Linked DNA regions of Homo sapiens: region 2 is linked to region 1. The links are contacts of gene promoters, found by promoter capture Hi-C in blood cells and fetal thymus (Javierre and others, 2016). All regions are on one chromosome and are shown on one strand. Each heading gives the region's core, a stretch centred on a gene start or on the middle of the fragment in contact. The rest is flanking DNA. Distances are from core to core; before and after follow the strand shown. Region 1 holds the start of AQP5 (aquaporin 5). Region 2 holds the start of LIMA1 (LIM domain and actin binding 1).

Region 1 (2,700 bases), core at 49-2,548:
TTGCCTGCCTCACACCCCATCCCGGCCTCCTGCCCGTGCCTGGCCCCATGCCAGTGCCAGCCTTAAACCCGTCTCTCCAGTGCGGCTGACTCACAGCTTGACAATGGCCAAGCAAATCCTCCTCTGTGTTTGATTAATGAACCCAGTTTGCATGGGGTTGGGGGCTGACTCTGGGGCTGCAGGAGGTGGGAGGGAGGCAGGGGTGCGGGGTTGAGGGGAGGAGCACAGGTTGGGGAAAGAGGGAACCAATACTCAACAGAAACTGCTCTGCACTGGCCCCACATTAGGGGGTTCCTATCTACGGTTTCTAAATGTGAGCCCCTTGACACCTGCTGTGGCAGACACAACCATCCCCATGGAGGCGCTGAGAACAATGAAGCACAGACAGGCCAGGGTCACCCAAAGCCGTGATGACAGCCCGCTTTTCTCTGGTGGTTCTACTCAACCGCTCCACTGAGGTGATGGGAGAGGTGAGGGGCCCAGGAGGAAGGTGGAGCTCAAAGGTGAGACAGGAGGAGGCAGAAGTTTCTGGCAGGAGAGGAGGGGTAGCAGGCATTGGAGAGAGACCAGGGTGGGCCAGCATGAGGGGAGGGGGAGAGGAGGTGGGCAGGAAGGGAGCACATATCAGCCTGGAGAGTTGCCTTCCTGGCCTTGGGAGGCTCTTGCCTTCCTGGTGAAGGGTGTGGGCTGGCCCACTCTGCGGCACCCCTTTTTTCCAGGTGGGGTAAGAGGCCTGGTCCTGAGCCCACCCCAGGGTCGAGGCTCCCACCCCCCCCCCAGGGCACTCACCGCGTTGACGGCCAGATTGCCCCGGGCATTGAGCGGTGCCACACCGTAGAGGATGCCAGCCCCGGCAATGGCGCCCACCAGCTGGGCCGCCACGTAGAAGAAAGCCCGGAGCAGCGAGATCTGGTTGCCCACCAAGAGGGCCAGGGTGATGGCGGGGTTGATGTGGCCGCCGCTCACGGGTCCCAGGGCCTGGGCCAGCGTGCCTATGGCCAGGCCAAACGCCAGCGCGATCTGCAGGATGGTAGGCAGCGCCGACGGCCACTTGAGGGCCGAGCCCAGGCCAAAGAAGACGAAGATGAGGGTGGCCAAGAACTCTGCGAACACGGCCTTGAGGAAGGCCACGGAGCACACCTCCTTCTTCATGGTGGCCGCGGGGGCCCGGCGGCAGCTGCCGCGGCGGGGGGCGCCCGTTGGGTCGCAGGCGGCGGAGGAGGTGGATGCGGCGGGGGCGGGGGCCTGGCTGCGGGGCGCCGCGCACTGTCCCGCGCCCACTCCGAGGCTGGCGGCCTGGCGCGGGCCCTGCTGGGGCGCGCTATATAGGGGGCGGGCGGCCGGGCGCGGGGCCGGCGCGGGGGGGCAGGGGGCGGCTCCTACGCTCGGGGGCCAGCGCGGCGCGCGGGTTGGGAGGCTCCAGGCCGCTGCGGGCCCGCCGCTCTCCGTCGTCCAGCGCAACCCCGGCGCGACCCCCGCCCCCCGGCCGGGGCAGCCGCCGGCCCGTCCGGGCCACGTGACCCAGGCGGCGGTGTAGACCGGCCCAGCGTCCCGGGCCCTGCGCATGATGCGCCCAGGTTGGCTCCCGCGCTCTCCTCGGTGCCGTGCGCCCCGGACTCCCTGGGAGACGGGGCTCGGTCCCGGCGCTTCACTCCGACCTCGGGGCGTCTAGCTCCGCCGGCCTTTACCGCGCTCCGTGCGCGGCCTTCCCCTTTTCTTCTCTTCGGGCTTTTGGTCCAGCTCCTCCTTTTCCTCCTGCGACCGGAGCATCCTGACCCGCCTCACCCCCGGCTGGGTCGGAGTGATGCTCGTCCCGCAGGTCGGCGCCGCTCACCTCCCTCACCGCCGGCGGCGGGGGCGGGCGGCCGGGCTGGGTCCTGCAGGGCGGTCCGGCCGTCCGACGTGGGCCGCTCCCGGCCTGGGCCGGGCGAGCTTCTGGGCTTGGAAGGCTGGCGTTTTGGGAAAAGTGGGCACCGTGCCAGCCTGCCCCGACGCTTCGCAATCCTCGACGCCCGGTAGCTGGGCAGTACCTGGACTAGGCAACGGATCCCCGGAGGCGCCCTCTCCCAGGCCGGGGTTCCCCTTGTCGACGGGACGGGACGGGGGTGTGACGTGAGGCCTTGAGACTCTGGGAGTTGGAGTGGGGGAGCAGGGGGGGTAGAGACGCACCACTGACCTCCCAAGCGCGGTCTTGGCGTCTTCCCTCTTCCTGCTAGAAGCCCCTCACCCTGGATCTAAGACTCTCCTTCTCTTCCTCCACCTCCCCTAAGTCTCCTTCAAACCCTCACTTGGTCTTGATCTCTCTCCCCTCGAAATCTGTTTCTGTCAGTCAGTCTTTGCAAAACCCTATTTCTCTTTTTGTCTCTGTCTTTGGTCTCTGACCCTCTCCCTCTGCCAGCCTCTTCCTCTCGGTCTCTCTCCGAGAGGTCTCTTTCTCATTTCAGTCTCTCTGTTCTCCACCTCTCCATCTCTCTCTCTCTCACACCTTCTCATTTTCTGTTTTTCCTTCCTGCCTTTTGCTGTCTTAGTCTCTCTGTCTCTCTCTATTCATTTCTCTCATCCTGCAGTTTCTGTCTCCTGGCTATTTTCACCTTTCCTCTGCCTCTTAATTTTTGTGCCTTTCTTTGTTTCTGTCTGTTTCTACCTCATTTTCCATGTCTCTCTCTCTTACATGTGGTCTTTCTCAGTCTCCCCAAAGTC
Region 2 (2,716 bases), core at 120-2,619, 320 kb before region 1:
CTCTGCTCACTGCAATCTCCACTTCCCGGGTTCAAGTCATTCTCGTGCCTCAGCCTCCCGAGTAGCTGGGATTACAGGCACTTACCACCACGTCCGGCTAATTTTTGTATTTTTAGTGGAGACGGTGCTTCGCCATGTTGGCTAGGCTGGTCTCGAACTCCTAACCTCAGGGGATCCGCCTGCCTCAGCCTCCCAAAGTGCTGGGATTACAGGTGTGAGCCACCGCGCCCGGCCCCTTGTACCTGATTTTGAATGGAGTTTCAACCAATCACAAACAGACAACCAGCCAAGTGGTTATATAATTAGGGACCTCCCATGTGACCATACCCAAATAAGGCAAACGCTTAGCTGTAGCCAATCAAATTTCTTTACTTTCGTGTTCAGCCTATAAAGTTTGATGCCTGGGCAGCTAGAGCAGGGGTGTCTGAGCCTCTTTTGGTTCTGACTGTTGTCCGATTCAAAATCTAAGTTTGTTTTGTCTGAAATTTTTATTTCTACAATACCTATCCAGAAATCAGTCTAGGCTGGATATTTGAAGGAAGAAGGGAATAACTGGCTGGCATATTCATCACCTGTTGGAAATCTCTCTTCTCACACATTTTCATTAACTTCTTGAGGAAGTGTAATTACAAGCGTTTTCCCACGAGCAGCCCCTACTAATAACGCATCAAGCTGCATGAATTCCGAAAAGCTTCAGAAAACTTGTGGTCTGAAACCCTACTATGCTTGAGGTACAGGAAAGAAGGATACTATCAAAAGGCATCATGCAGCTGGCACGGAACTGGGACAAGAATTTGGGGGCAGGATGGCCAAGTGCTAGGCCAATTGACGGTCTCCAAACCATTAGCACAGCTCCTATTCTGAATGGAGGAGTAAAAACAGCTGTTGGAGAACTTGGACGTCATCTGCCCTTGTCAAACCGTTTTCAGGATTAATGTACTTAATTCAGCTTTTTCCACTACACCACACAGCCTCCTGTAAAACACCCTCCCTGCACACAACTTACCCCCAAAGCACCAGGAACCTAGCTGGCTAGAGTTGAGCTTAGGAAAAACCTGAGTGGCTCCAGAGTCAAACTGCGATAACGTTGAGTCAGAGGAGTTAAGGACAAAGTAGAGCTGCACAGAGGCCCACGTCGTGCAAGTGCGTGTCTCCTTCAGAGAAAAGCGTGCCGAGGTAGACTAGGCCCCGGGCAGCAAAAACCCTGTCCCGTCGCCAGCGCCCCGCACCGCCAGAGCGACTGGAGCAGACGCGAGCGCTGGGCACGTAGCCGGTGGCGCGCACGCTCAGCCCGAGGCCGCACGGGAGGCTGTCTGGCGTGCGCGCCCCCGCGGCGGTGGGCGGGGTCCGGGGCGGGGCCGCAGGAGCAGTAGGTGTTAGCAGCTTGGTCGCGACAGGTGCGCTAGGTAGAGCGCCGGGACCTGTGACAGGGCTGGTAGCAGCGCAGAGGAAAGGCGGCTTTTAGCCAGGTAAGGGCCTTCTCTCTCCACAACCGGAGAGTGCGGGAAGACCCCGGCTTCTCTCCACACCCTCTTTCTCCTTCGACTTTTGGGGCGGGGGGAGTGCAAGGAGTGTGAGTCCCTCCCCCTCGAGATAAGGGGTCGAGGGACGCTGATCCTCCGTTCTTTCCTCACTTCTGGGGCCTGCGCTGGGTGGGGAGTGCTTATGTCGGGCTGAGCCTTTGCTGCCCAAGGGCGGGAGCTGCAAATACCCCGTCCTCTCCCACCGAGAACACTGCATTCTAACTGTATACTTTCTGGTGTGGTGGAGGAAGGTGACAATTCATTAAAACTCCAAATACCCTCCTTCCAGGGAAATACTGTAATATTCAACTGTTCTTTTTCCTTCATTTTCAGCCATTCCCTCTCTTTTCGATTTTTTCTCCCTTCCATTACGCCAGCTGAACTCTGTTTAAGACACTTACACCCTTTTGAGGAATGTTGAGAATATAGCAGTCCTTGCAGCCGATGTGTCATCCCCGAATCGCTATCGTGTATATATCGCTGGCACTTGCCCCCGACATATGTTGGTGTTAATGTAAGGTAATTGTACACCCCTGGCTACACATACTAAAGCTTGAAGTTGTAGCTGCTAGGAACGAACCATCTGGCACCCTTCCTAGCCTCCTTACTGATGCTTGCAAGAACGGTTTAGCTGATCCTGGTGAGAGATATTTGAACTACTATTGTCTTGCACCTAATTCCAGCTTTCAAAAGTCTGCCTTGGACGGGCGCAGTGGCTCACGCCTATAATCCCAACACTTTGGGAAACTGAGGCGGGAGGATCGCTTGAGCCCAGGTGTTTGAGACCAGCCAAGGCAACTTAGCGAGACCCTTGTCTCTACAAAAAAATAAATAAATAAATAAAAATAAAAGATAAGTCTGCCTAATCCAGATCTGCCTAATCCAGATGGTTCAATTGACTTGACTTTTCAGGTTAGTCAAAGGTAATTAGGGAGTTATCAGTTTTTAAGGCAATGCCCATTTTGGGGAGAGGTTTTCTTTTGCATTAAGTATTCTTTCTTTTGCTCTTGATTTAAATGGTTTAACACAGTACCTTTTATCTGCTTGGTTACCAATACTATTCACAAATGCTAAATATTTCAGGAGCCATGAAATAACACCAATCCTTTCTTCTGAGGTATGATGTAGACACAAAAGAACATGACCCCTAACAACATGTTCTAAGTTCCTGTAGAGGTATAACCTGGGTGCAG

What was found. The method cuts DNA at HindIII sites, captures the fragments that hold promoters and counts their contacts. A CHiCAGO score of 5 or more calls a contact.
Region 2: the fragment with the promoter of LIMA1 here is called in contact with the fragment with the promoter of AQP5 in region 1 in 6 of 17 cell types (M2 macrophages, M0 macrophages, M1 macrophages and 3 more); the score reaches 9.5 in M2 macrophages.

What each region holds. Positions count from the first base shown.
Region 1 is chr12:49,960,470-49,963,169 of GRCh38, reverse strand. It overlaps AQP5 (aquaporin 5), which reads right to left and starts at 1,298. Exons shown (of 4, transcript NM_001651.4): 1 at 790-1,298. The coding sequence starts at 1,152. AQP5-AS1 (AQP5 and AQP2 antisense RNA 2) reads left to right here and starts at 387. Exons shown (of 3, transcript NR_110591.1): 1 at 387-503. The HindIII fragment of the contact is 7,065 bases long and covers 1-2,700 here.
Region 2 is chr12:50,282,173-50,284,888 of GRCh38, reverse strand. LIMA1 (LIM domain and actin binding 1) reads left to right here and starts at 1,369. Exons shown (of 11, transcript NM_016357.5): 1 at 1,369-1,469. LOC107984505 (a long non-coding RNA gene) reads right to left here and starts at 1,268. Exons shown (of 2, transcript XR_001749144.2): 1 at 1,007-1,268. RefSeq lists a silencer at 1,149-1,458. The HindIII fragment of the contact is 1,384 bases long and covers 694-2,077 here.